Linked DNA regions of Homo sapiens: region 2 is linked to region 1. Evidence: promoter capture Hi-C in 16 types of primary human blood cells and fetal thymus (Javierre and others, 2016). All regions are on one chromosome and are shown on one strand. The core of a region is centred on a gene start or on the middle of the fragment in contact, and the rest is flanking DNA. Distances in the headings are between cores, read along the strand shown.

Region 1 (6,875 bases), core at 2,133-4,632:
CCTTCTGAAAAACCTAGACCTGCCTAATCACTTATGCTTTGTAACTTTTCTGAAAAACCACTGAGTCCATTAAGAATGATTTCTTCTATATTACCATTCTGCTTCTTATTCCTCTTTCTTTCTTTTAATTAGGAGAGGGTTTCGCTCTGTTGCCCAGGCTGGTCTTGAACTCCTGGCCTCAAGAGATCCTCCTGCCTCAGCCTCCCCAAGTGCTAGAATTACAGGCATGAGCCACCACACCCCACCTTATTCCTAGTCATCTCTAAACCTTCTTCCTGACAAACAACTCATGAAAAAACACTTCAAATCTATATGCCCTCAGCTCCATCCATTTATTTAAATGCACACATGTACATATAAAAAACTCAATGTTAAAGCACTTTTTCCTCAATACCTAGAATCAAAGCAAAGGAAATCCTTGGCTTTTCTACCCCCTAAACAGCCCTCACAACAAGGATTTAATGTAAACAAAATAAAGATTTTATTTAATGTAAACAAAATAAAAATATAAAACAGAAAATTAAGGATTAACTAAAGATATAGGTGTAACTCTTACATTTCCTTTCAGTGTCAACTCGTGGCAAACAAAAGGAATATCTGTTTTACAAACTGAATGCTGCAGTGTCTGTTTCACTGTGTATGAACATTAACTAATGTGTGAACATTAGTTAATGTACTAATTAGAAAACTCTAGTACATTAGAACTGCTGCTTCTCAAGGAAGCTTGCACTTCTTTCAAAGCCAGGTCATTTTATTTGGTACATCTATCTAGTACATTAGAAAAGTCTAATAGAGTGCTAGTCCACAGTTCACCAGCATTCTACTAGACTTTTCACAGAAGTCTGAAATTTAAAAAAGAAATGTTTGATTTGGGATTTAAGCAGTCAATTATACTCTTACTACACAGTCTAAAATTAAAGAGATAAAAACTAAGTATTTATATAGCAATTTTTGTCTGCGGTGGCCCTAAGCATGTTTAAATGATTAGGGCTTGCTTTGCTATTAATTACTTTACAGCTGGAGATACTGAGATACACAGGTTAAGTGGGTTCTACAAACTAATGTCATGAGTCATCATAAGAGTTCATATATTCTGACTAGAAATTCTAGTCTTCTGCCTGCTGTCCACCACAAATCCCTATTTAATTTATAAGAGCACAGGAACCAACTCACTAAAAATACCAGCAAGAATTTGTAGGCATTTACTTTTTTAAAATGAATGTTTACCTAAAAATAAAAAGACCTGGCTTTTTATTTGAAGGAAGTGCAAGCTTCCTTGAGAAGCAGCAGTTTCTTTATTTGCATTTGAAAAATCATTTTTAAAAAATCTTAAAAGCTGATGAGTGCATCACCTCTTACCATACACAATTGCTAGTTCTTCTCAAAGAAGTGTGGTTTGATGACACCAGAGCCTCCTAGTTTTACTTTAAATCACTTTGAATAAGGAACTACACTTTTTTTTTTGCCTTGGTATTTCCCTTCTTAAAACAGAAACAGAAAACTTAATTCCTACCTGACACAGACAACATAAGGAAGAATTTGTTTGTGGACTGCTTTGAGATTCCAGAACCAAATACATAATCCAGTTGATCTTCAACCCTACAATAAAGACAAACTTCACTAAACATAATTGCTTCAGCAGATGCCTTCAAAATAAGATACTATACCATTATTTATGGAAAGAGAAGTTTTATTTAAGCCAAATCTTGATCACAATGCAATGGAGGAAAAAAATTACAAAACCGTTTAGAAAGTTCTTCTGCTCAATTAAAAAATTTAATACTTCTCACGTATGTCTCCTATAAGCACACTAATTCTAAAGGTAGCAGAAATTGTATGCATTTATTAGAGAACAGAGACTCTCAGGAAAATTATGCAATCAATTGCAATAGCAAATGTATAAAACAAATTAATAATACATTTTAAAAAAGAAATTCTGTTAAATTTCATTTAAGATTAGTTCTTGGACAGCTACACCTAATGGAGGACAAGAAAATTTCCAAATTTTAAGTGTATGTTTGTAGGTCAACCTTTAACAAGTCTTAACCCATTATAGTTTCATTTAGTCTGTACTCAAGTTGCTTTCCCAGGCATGCCAGGTAAACATAATTCTTAAAAATTAAAGCTTTAATCAGTAAGTGTAACCGATTTGTTGCTACTGTCACTCTTTTGATGATACTTCCACCAACCGGTAAAGAAAGAAGAAATGTTATTAAACTGGAAGATGAACTAGAAACATTGAGTGGATACCTAGCTTAGGCAGAAAGCAGCAAGGACTAGAAGGGTATGTCACAAAGAAGTCTTCAGAGATTTAATAAAAAGTAAAACAAATGGAATGAAGTTAAGAGGCTTGACTTATACAAATGGGGGGGGGAGGGTGGAAGAGTTTTGGAGGGGAAAAAATTAAGATTAGAGACTCACTGGGTGCAGAATGGAAAAGGACGTGAGGATAGGGGCCATTAGACAGAAAGCGATGAAGCAGGGTACCAGAGGAAAGAGAAGGCAGTGAGGGTTTCCGAAGCTAAGATGGGGCATGGAATGAACTCCAATGCAAAGCGATGCTAAAGCAAAACACAATCGGCAACTAACAAAAAGGGAACCAGGAGGAAGTACCGAAAGGAGGTGGATGAGAGGAAAATAAAACCAAGGAAGAAATTATGGAGGTAACAAGAGTGAGAAACCTGGTCGGCCAGGGTAAGGAGCTCCGGACAGGGAAGAGCCAGGCAAGGGATGGAAGCACAGAGATACGCTGCTTCCCAAGGAGGGACCACCCGGGCAAAAAGACACGTGGGAGGCGCGGGATGAAAAAGCAGAACCACGAAAGCGGGTAAAGGAGGGACAGAGCGACGAAGATGGAGCAGGGGTGAAGGGCAAACACGCTAGGCGCGAGGTTCAGGAAGAACGGGTCGAGGGACGCGCGCAGGGGCAGGGGCGGCCGCGGGCACCGGGAGAGCAGCGCGCCGCGGCCCCTCGCCTCCCTCAGAGCGCTCCGCACCGCCGTCCCCACCGACCTTCAACGGGGCCGGGGCCAGGCTCCGACCGCCAGCAGTCGGGTGAGGGGCCGCGGCGGGCGAACGGCGGACGAAGAGGAGGCCGCTTCCTTCCTGGCCCCTGGGCAAGAGGGACGGAGGGAGGGGTCGTGGGTGTCGGGAGCCGGGGGAGCCAGAGGGGACAGTAAGGGGGTTACCTCTCGCCCGGCTCGGCCTCTTCCCCCGCCTGTCGAACGGAGGAGCTCGTTGTCCAGCTGCAAGAAGACGGCCCGACCCGGGTCAGCACCATCCCGCCCCGGGCCCCCTCACATCGCCATCACAGCAACCGCAAACACCGCAACCGCGGAGCCGGTTCGTCACCGCGGCTCGGCTACTGGCCCAGCGCGGCCAGCGAGCATGCGCAGTCGCCCCAGTCCCGAGGGAGCCCGGGCCAGCCGGCTATACCTGCGATCAACAGGTCCCCGGCCGCACGGCCCCGCCCCCGGCCTCTCTCACCTCCTCCTCCCGCCTCTTCCCTCCCCTCTCTGAGGCTAGGCCCCGCCCCTTCAAGCTCCGTGCCCCGCCCTTCAGGAGCTTCAACTGCCCCTCCAGCTCCAGCGCCAACTGAGATTTCGAGAGATTTGTCCTCCCTACCAGGCTCCCGTTCCCAAGTTCCCGCGAGAACGGGAGGTTTGCGTCAATAAAAGGCGCGCGTCAAGAAAAGGGGCTCGCTTGTGGGTTTAAGGGATGGAACTTGGAGGTGGTTGAAGAGTAGTGAACAAGAAGAGGGCAAAAACACGGAGTTCGAGAACTTTAGCCGTTTTTCTCACAATGTTGTTTCTCCTTTTCTCTCTTTAGCTCCTCCGTGCAGTCCCGGGTAGAGAGCCCGGTCCCTGCGCTAGTCGATTTGTGCAGTAGGAAAGGAGGCTGCAGGGGATCTGCGCCGGGGCAGGACAGATGCCTTTCGGGACCCAGTGTTTGCATCTTGGGAGATGTGGGTGCTGATCTGGTTGTTTCTTGGTTTATGACGCCAAAAAGGGCGGGAGGGGGCTGATGAAGTGAAGCCTTTCGCTAATACATTCCGTTAACAGAAGCCCACGAAGGATCATTGATTTATTTCACTCTTCCCTGTTTCTGAACCTTATCTGGCAAAAACTTTTGTGGTGCATAAAGTTCAGTATGTTGCTAAAGCTGAGTTAATGAAAGGAAAATTTCAGCTGCGACTCTTGTTTTAAAAATGAATCTAGGATGGATAGTGGTGTTGGTTGCACAACAATGAATGGACATAATGCTACTGAACTGTGCACTTAAAAATGGTTAAAATGGTAAATTTTCTGTTATGTATATTTTACCACAATAAGAATGAATTAGAAGGGAAAAGCTTTGTGCATTCATTTGAAAGTAATGGTGAGGTCTTGTAACGTAGGCCATTTAGGGGACAGGTTTTGAATATATCTTTGTACCAGTTTTTTTTTTTTTCGAGTGTGTGTGTGAGACAGAGCATTGCTCCGTCGCCCAGGCGGGAGTGCAGTAATGTGATCTCGGCTCACTGCAACCTCTGCCTCCGGAGTTCAAGCAATTCTCCTGTCTCAGCCTCCCTAGTAGCTGGGACTACAGGCGCACACCACCACGCCTGACTACTTTTTGTATTGTTAGTAGAGACGTGGTCTCACCATATTGGTCAGGCTGGTTTCGAACTCCTGACCTTAGGTGATCCACCCGCCTTGGCCTTCCAAAGTGCTGGGATTACAGGCCTAAGACACCGTGCCTGGCTTGTACCAGTTTTTACATGATTGGGTGTCCTCTTATCCTGTGAACCAATTTATTTGCATTTGTATGAATGGCCTGCTTTCCTGATTTCTAATTTGTCCCTTCTTTTATAGCCCTATACCATTTTACTATCCTTGCTAAACAGGCTTTTATTGCTTGTTTTGTGACTTGAACTTTAGCCTCAAAATTGGAAAGGCTTTTTCTGTTTTTTTTTTAGTTCCAGCCATGTCTTAGGAAAATATAGTAAACAACCAATTATTTGCATTTCCACGTCCGTGCATCCCTAAAACACACAGTGTGCCAAGATTCTTTCCCTGTTCCACGTTCTTTTTATTCAAATCACATTGTTAACTCATCTGCTGTGTGCCAGGCAGTGTGCTAATCTTGGAAGATACCAACATGAATGAAAAAGAACTTGGGTGGAGTGTTTGCATTATTACCCTATGATGTAATGTGTATAGTGCAGAGATAAATGCACAGAGAGCTATTGAAGCTCAGAAGAAGCATTAATCCAACTTTGGGAAGAGGTCATGGGTCAGGAAAAACTTCCAGGAGAAAATGATTCCAGAGAGTTGAAGTGGGATGTCTTGTGGTGGCGGTTGGGAGGAGTAAAGGGAAAAGGATTGCTTGAACAGAAGCTGTACAGTAAGAAACTGGTCTTTGTGCTGAACTAAAACTAAGACTTCTATGCCACTGTTTAGGGATGTGAGGCTGGAGAAGTTGACAAGGATCATGGTGAGCCTTCAAAAAAAGTCAAATCAGTTCAACCATTATATATATATATATAGCTTATTAGATATTTGCCAAATACTGTGCTAGTTACTGAGGGATATAATGAAAGTTAAGGGTCAGTCTAAAATCTCAGAGTTTGCAATCTAGCAGGGGTAGACAGGCATGTAAAAACAAAAAAAAAACAAGTTCTGCTACAGAGTTAAAATTGGGGTAGGTACGGGGTTGTCTGGGAACCCAGAAGAGGAGCACTTAACTAACCTAGAGATTTAGCAGGACTTCCTGGTAATTATCTATTGATAGAAGAATATAAAATAATCTCTTAAAGAAATAAGAAAATTCACCTGGGGTGGCTCACTCCTGTAATCCCGGCATTTTGGGAAGCCGAGGCAGGCAGATCACTTGAGGTCAGGAATTTGAGACCAGCCTGGGTTTAGTAGAGAAACCCCATCTCTACTAAAAATAAAAAAATTGCCGGGCGTGGTGGCAGGCGCCTGTAATCCCAGCTACTCCAGAGGCTGAGGCATGGGAATCACTCGAACCTGGGAGGTGGAGGTTGCAGTGAGCCGAGATCGTGCCACTGCATTCCAGCCTGGGTGACAGAGTGAGACTCCATCGCAAAAAAAACCAAAACGAACAGCAACAACAACAACAAAAACAATAAGAAATACGAAAATTTATGGCATCTACTGAGGTACAGACTACTAGAGAGTATAGCATACTGATCTAATTGTCAGATTACCTGGTTCTAATTCTAGAGTCTACAGTATACTGTGTTATCTTGAGAGTCTCTTATCTTCTCTAGGTCTGTTTTCTCTCAAATATAAGAAGATAATCACATTATATAGACTTTGAATTCCTTTAGAAATTTGTCTAGAAATTTCCTGATTCTAAATTTACTTCCCATATTTATCTTCCCAAGTTTGGTGTCACCCATTATGCTGCTAATAAACAGTTTTGTGTCACATTTAATGTACATTAACATTTTATGTTATATATGTGTCCTTTTCAATCTATGTTGTGCTCAAGGAATATAAGATTTGGAATCCTTTCTATCTTGTAATTGGTTTACATAATTTAACTTTGGCATGGAGTGTTTTTGAATGTTTGCTAAACCCTTCTAACTGTGGAGTATTCTCTTAATCCAAAGATCAGGTTATCTCTCCCTTTCTCGGTTGCACAACATTGGTTCAGCTAAAGATTGAGACAGTAGAAGAAATGAATATTGTAAATTTGAAAACAGCCTCATGAAGGCCGGGCGCAGTGGCTCATGCCTGTAATCCCAGCACTTTGGGAGGCCTAGGCGGGTGGATCACGAGGTTAGGAGTTCGACACCAGCCTGGCCAACATAGTGAAACCCTGTCTCTACCAAAAACACAAAAATTAGCCAGGCGTGGTGGTGAGTGC
Region 2 (6,875 bases), core at 1,188-3,687, 440 kb before region 1:
TGTGAGGGTGTGTGTGTTTTGGAGATAATATCATTTTTACCTACCATGGAAATAAGTTTTGATGATCTAAAACATCTGAAATGTTATGTTTTGAAGTCACAACATGGAAGAAAACTAGATAGAAAAAACAAAACACACATACAATACTTAAACTGATTCTACAGGAAGCATCCATAAAACTCCAAAATAAGTCCTTTATTTATTCCAGCACAGCCACTTTTAGTGATGGCTGTACCAAGCCACTGCAATGTACAGGGAAAGGGACTCTGACAGAGCTTCCTACTTAAAAATTCAAATTAAAAAACAGTTTTTAAAACTGTAATTTCAAGAATTCAAAACCGGTTTATTTTATATCCCCTTTTTATGTTAGTGAACATTTATAAGGGCTGGGGGCAGGAGATGAAGTGGAGTGCTATAGGTCGAGTTTGCATGCACAGCACTCCAGGACTGGAACATCTCACAAGGTTCAGTTTTCTGTAACCACAACCAAGTTAACAGTTCAGAGCATCACAACTCCAGCCTCTTGAGAGTTATAGCCTAATTAACCTTCTATCTTAACAATTTACAGTCTCATTTGATATCTCTTTGGTAGACCATACTCTCATCAAAGGGAAATCTGTCATCTTTGAAAACCTTTTCAACAATGAATGGGGTATCTTGCACAAAGTAGATACTCAAATACTGACAAATTCAATGGAGGATCTACCATCTCATTCATATTTCCACCACAATCCACAGAAACTTAGAGAGTTCTTGTCTTTTTCCAAGTACAACTAGAGAAATTGGTATCTTTTATTTCCCTGTTTAAGCTTCAATTACAAAGAATTATTAACACATAGTCACGATAAAATATTTTTTGCTATTTAATTTACAAAAGAGTGTGTAAAGCCCAAATTAGGTTAATCTGAAAGTTATTCAACTGCAAATTTTTCAAGTCATTTTCAGTGATATCACATTATCACAACCATTAAAAGAAATATATTGATATGTATTATACATATCTATATCAAGTACTATGGACAATTAAAAGGTGAAGAAATAAAACAATGTACATAGATTATAATTTACAATATATAGAATTTTAAACTGAGACAACTATCAAAGAATTAAGACTCATACATGAAAATACTTTTTTTCATTTCTAACCCTTTCAAATGGCAATATTCACTTTAAAGTTAGACCTCCTTAAAGCGCTACTTTGTTTTCCAGTTCATTCCATACCCCATTTACATGATGTATAGTACATTATAAATATCAGCCAGAAATAAAGTGATATTTTAAAGGGACAAGGCATTCTAGGTTTAAAAACACAACTAAGGAATATCTTTTTTGTTTGTATCTACACTTCAGTAAAGGAAGTCCAATAATAATGACATATAAGCCAGTGGTGATTTAACTCATGAGCTACAGAGTTAGAGATGGGCAAACATCGTCATCAATTAGACATGTTTCATTCTATCACATGAATTGAGGAAGCACTTTATTAGCTGCAAATATAATTATATATATAAAATGTATATATACTTATATATGTACAAATTTTAAATGTTTATAAAATTTAAACTCAAATAGAAGCACATGTCCTCTAAAACAATGTAAACTGCAACCAAAATAAAAGGAAAAAAAACGGTGACAAGCTGAATATAAGCAACTATTTCCAGTTTTTCCGTTATAGTTGTTTTTACTTTATTAAGTAGTAGTTAACAAAATCAGACAAATTTATGGAAAAAAAAATTTAACATGAGAAAATCCCGTTGATTTTTTGGCAAACTGAGAAAATACTATCAATTGCTTTTTACCACAGCACATGTCAGTCTAGTTCACAGAACACCAGTGTGCCCAGGATGCATTTAGTGAGAATCACAAAGCGCATCCACTAAAAACCAATGCTATGTCTTATTACTTTTATAAACTGTACAGCTTTCCGAAATTTTAAGTCTGTTCTACTTAGTACCTTAGACTCCTCTCAGAATATTTACTTATACTTTCAAATCTAAACCACATTTGGTATCTAGCAATACATTTTCTAATCCGTAAAACAACACACAGCATATTACTTGGTTTCTGAAGTCTTATTTTACCTTTAACCCCCTTTAGTATCACATATGTGACTAATAACTTGTCCAGTGTCACAGAGCAGGAGCAAAGTCTTAGATTGTAATCTTATTCAATGTTTACTGTAAAAGCAACACATTCTTGTAAAAGATTCAAACCATGCAAAAATGAAGAAACTAAAAGTACCCACCATAGATGGTGGTGACAGTTGTGCAATGTGAGTGTACTTAATGTCACTGATTATACATTGTAAAATATTTAAAATGGTAAATTTTATGTGTGTTTTACCACAAGTTTAAAAACAATGTATATAGGATCATACAAAAATAGTCTTCTTTATATAAAATTATGTATGTGTAGGTAGGGGATTTGCATTCTGTGATACTGCATGTGCCTATAATAATTTATTTATTCAATGTGTGACTCAAGAGAATTTAGGTAGTTTCCAGATTTTCACCATAAAAGCAGAACATTCCTCTAAATAAAGTCTACACAGCTCATGTCCCTTCACTGCAACATAACTTGAATTCTGTTTTTACCACTGCACTATAAACAAGTCCATATTCTCTTTCCATGTGTTTTTTTTATTATTATTACTATATTAAAATTAGCCTCTTGAAATTTCTGGCATTTCACACAAACAACAAAGTTGTGATCTCTCTGTAACCAGCCACCATGGTTAATGGAGCTGTCATGAAGTCAATTCACAAAGTAAGTCTGAGGGACTTCAGAATCCTTTTTAGAATGAGACAGAGGAAGCACCTGCTTAGGGACAGCAATCTTTGTGGCAAGGCTGACACTGTTTTCAATTGATTAAGGAAGACTTTTTCATACCCCCCCAAAAACCTGAGGTAAGGAACTTTCTGCCAGGCCTCACCAAGATTTTTCTCTACAGAGCATCCTTGTGATGAGCATAGGTGATTGCTCTCTGCTCTCACCATCTGCAACATACCTGCCCCTCTTTTGTCTCTACTCCATCTTCTCCCCATGTGATTGATCCCTTAACGGTGGGTTCTGGATTTCACAGCCATCAATTTTTCTAGTTACTATCAAAGCTATGCATTCACAGAATTGTTGAAAAAACAAATTCTTAACCTAAATGAAAACTTCTCAGCCTTGCAAAATTGGTAAACACAAGTTCCCAGTGGGTTTTCAATAGTTGCTAATTTTACTTACAACATTTGGCTTGCTTAACACATTATTTAAAAGGGATTGCTTCAATTCATTTTGAAGGTCATTGTGTTTTTAATTTTCAGTGTTTAAAAAAGACAATTAAAGACTCGTTATCATTACCATCATTATAAACATCACATTCATCCTGGATGTTTTTAAAGAATGTTTACATGTTATCATTTTTGTCCCGATGCAAGATGAGAAGGGCATCTCCTCCATTATCTCCAGTTATACCAACTAGGACACAGAGCAATGAAAAGACTTCCTCAATGTCCTTCACCTTTTTAAGCAGCAAAATTTGTACCAGAACAGAGTCTTCTCACATCTAGACTAGAGCTCTTTAAACCACATTTCATCAAAAGCCATGTAATTTCAACTGCGCCTAATTATAAACAAATCACTTAAAGTTCTGAAAATTAAAAAACAACTTTAAAATAGTTTATAATTATTTGTACTAAGTTTGAGAAGCAGTTACTTAAACAGTCTAAAAATCATTTGGTGCCACACTCAAAATTTTCCTCATCATGTCCCCACTCCACTATCCTGTACTGACACCAGTATCTTTTCAGTTTTTAGGGAGGGATTCAGGTGGATATGGTCATCAGTGAGCAAACTGGGCTCCTGGAAGCAACTGTGGGATATAATCAGGCCTTGGTCAACTAAGAATATTCACAAATTATTGGGAGTTAAATGCATCCTTTTGATCATGGGCCCACTAATAACATGGTCTTTGCTGATTAATAAAAGCTCAGAGGCCACAAAATCAAGAAAATACCAAGATGCTGAAAACAGTTATTCAGATAAATAACTTTAACATTTAGAAAGCATAAAGCTTATTCAAATTAAATAGTGTAAATCACCATAATGTGAGAAAAACATTTAAATCAGCATGGGTTATACCTTGTTGGTGCATGCACACACATGTAGTCACACAAACACACACACACACACTTCCTCTTTCAGGGGAGAGAGAACATCAGACCACACAGTGCCTTCTATGAGATTAGGGGATGTCTGTGAAAACTAATCAGAATTCACCGTAGACATGCACCTTGCTCAGCTACGGAATGATGGTGGGAGCAGCAGGAGGCAGCAGTCCCCCTTTAATTAGTATGCAGAAACAGCTGGTGGACAATAAAAATAATGGGAGATCCAGAGTACAAGAAAAGCCTAGGGCAAATGGAGGAAATTCAGCTGGGAACATCATAAAGAATGATAATGAAGCACAAAGGACCCCTTGAAAAGGCAATGAGCAAACAGAAGAAATTAGGACAATGCAGTAAAATGAAGATGGGATTTCCATCTTAAAGGCAAGACATCAAACCTACAGTTAAGTAGCTTGTGGTAAGTATTTTCTTTCTTCATTACCTTAAGATGTTAGGCTAGTGTCTTATTTGGGAACTGAATTGATAGATGAATGTTTTTAACTACCCACATATGAGAAACCGACAGGAAAAGGTTAAAATGTTTTCAGCTGCAGAAAAAAATTGTTAAAATCAGTGCTACAACTTCCAAGAACAGAAGGCATTCCCAGCATGCATTCACTGGCCCACTTCACATCATGACACTGAGAGATGTTAGAAAGAGGTAACATTTCAAATATGACAAAGTCATGAGGGCCAGTCTCTTGTCACCTAAAAATCCTCAATTTGGGAAGTGAGCCAAATGACTCTATTAACTGTAACTATACCAGAATTCATCTGACGCCAATAATCCAAATGAGTATGAGGTAAATAAAGTATTTTTAACAATATTGTCTTCCCCTTGGTGCATTCCAAGTGCCTTTAAATTTATAAACTAAAACTAAAAGGAAATAAGAATACAACACTTCATATTTTAATACAAGTTTAACCACTAATATTTATTTAAGTACTATGTGCCAGATACTCTGATCAATAAAGTATCTCAGTTTAATCCTTACCTCACCTGGAGGGAATCTGCACAGTAAGCCTAGGACTTCAACACGGGTCTCAATGGTGCACCCGGAAAACTCAACTGCTATAACCAGTTTGAGAAATGTTTCCTGGTGTTCTCAGGCAGAAACAGGTGCCCATTCCCTACCCAGAGTTACAATGATTTACATGACCATTGACCTACCTCCCTAAAATAGTGCCCTGAGGGCAGGGGCTGGCTTCACTACCCAGCCCAGGCATAGTACTTGGCACAAGCTCCTTTCTGAGGCACAGGATGACTCCTGAGCCCACAACACCCAGCACCACCTCCACTGCAGGCCATACCACCCACAGCGGGTCAGTCAGGCCTACCAACTCCACCTCCAAATGTTCCGCTAATCCAGGGGCTGCAAAGTAGAAGCCTTCCCAAGCATCTTATCCTTTTCATTTTTAGTTTTTATGGCATCGGAATGTTCTTAGGCTGAACAGGCATGCCCCAGTACTCCAGAAGCCTCTTTACTCCTCGCTGGCACCACTTTTATAGCCCCGAGCCATGACCAGTCCCACCTGCTTCGTCACCAGGAAGAGTGCAGCTGCCTCCTTAATTCAATGCGTGGATTAAGGCACATACTCAATACATGATTAATTGAAATGCTTTCCAAACACAGGTTATGGGAGGATTTCTTGGTGACAGCAGAGCCATGGCGGAAAACAAATAGTAGTTCAGGTGATCCTACTTTTGTGGGAGAAAAGTGAAATAATGACACTATTTTTGAAAAGTACAAGCAATCTCCTGGCTACAAATCCTTTTCAGTCCTCTTCCTACTTACCACCAGCACATTTAGCCCTAGCTGATCCTTCTCCTGTAAAATCGCCTCTCTTAGAGTTTACAGCCACATTCTCCTTGAAGACTCCACAGCCATTGCTACCAATATCCTGGACTGGCTCCTCTTCCTCTGTTTTCATAGACACAGCTTCCACACAACTATCTGCCTATGAGATTACAACTGCTTCTTAACTAGAATCCCTACACCAGGGCTTCCCCTTTCCAGTTGAACAAGTACAGTGAGGCTGGAATTCTTTCTCTCAATCATAAATGTGTCTCCAGCGCCCCTCTGTCCAAACCTCAGTGCATCACTGTTGTCACGGCACCTCCCAGGACTATTCTACCTGCTACCTCACTGGTCGGAGCCATATCTTACCCTCTTGCTCATCTGTTCCAACTGTCCTAACATAGCACTTGTGTGCCCTATGATAAGATACAGATGGGTTTTAAATCATAAGATCCTCTACAAAGGTACAGCTCTAAAAGCTGCATTTATCTGGGCATTTGCTTATCTTTTCCAACTGTTATTCACTCTAAAGGTGATGTCCGTAAAACATTAGATTTTACTTGAAATAAGTTTGCATAGTACAAAATAAACTTATTTTATTCTCCTCTAGCTGCAGCAAGAAAAAATCAACCTCTGAATTAAGGAAAATAGAATTTAAATTGGAATTTTAGCATTAATCCAGATTTCAAACTGAATCCTCACAACCAGTTCTCTTAGATAATCCCATCTTTTCCCTCAATGATAATTCTGTCTTCCAGTTTCTGGACAGCAGCCCCATCCCCCTCTTGCACTACTATAAACACACAGAGCTGCATCTTCTGGTGTTTACCAGTGTTCCATGAACTCTGCTGGTGCTCAATAAATATTAATTGAATTCATCCTTTACTTGAATGTCAGAGGCATTAGCTGATCATAATCTATT

Evidence for each region. The method cuts DNA at HindIII sites, captures the fragments that hold promoters and counts their contacts. A CHiCAGO score of 5 or more calls a contact.
Region 2: a fragment that was not itself captured here is called in contact with the fragment with the promoter of FAM135A in region 1 in 2 of 17 cell types (monocytes and activated CD4 T cells); the score reaches 5.2 in monocytes.

The regions. Positions count from the first base shown.
Region 1 is chr6:70,410,015-70,416,889 of GRCh38, reverse strand. FAM135A (family with sequence similarity 135 member A) reads right to left here and starts at 3,382. Exons shown (of 22, transcript NM_001162529.3): 1 at 3,188-3,382; 2 at 1,514-1,599. FAM135A-AS1 (FAM135A antisense RNA 1) reads left to right here and starts at 2,932. Exons shown (of 2, transcript NR_147708.1): 1 at 2,932-3,053; 2 at 3,828-4,062. RefSeq lists silencers at 2,866-3,015, 3,356-3,575. The HindIII fragment of the contact is 2,225 bases long and covers 2,128-4,352 here.
Region 2 is chr6:70,845,197-70,852,071 of GRCh38, reverse strand. The region is part of intron 7 of SMAP1 (small ArfGAP 1); the gene reads right to left. Among named protein-coding and RNA genes, the nearest start is that of B3GAT2, 110 kb to the left of the region's middle. The HindIII fragment of the contact is 3,251 bases long and covers 812-4,062 here.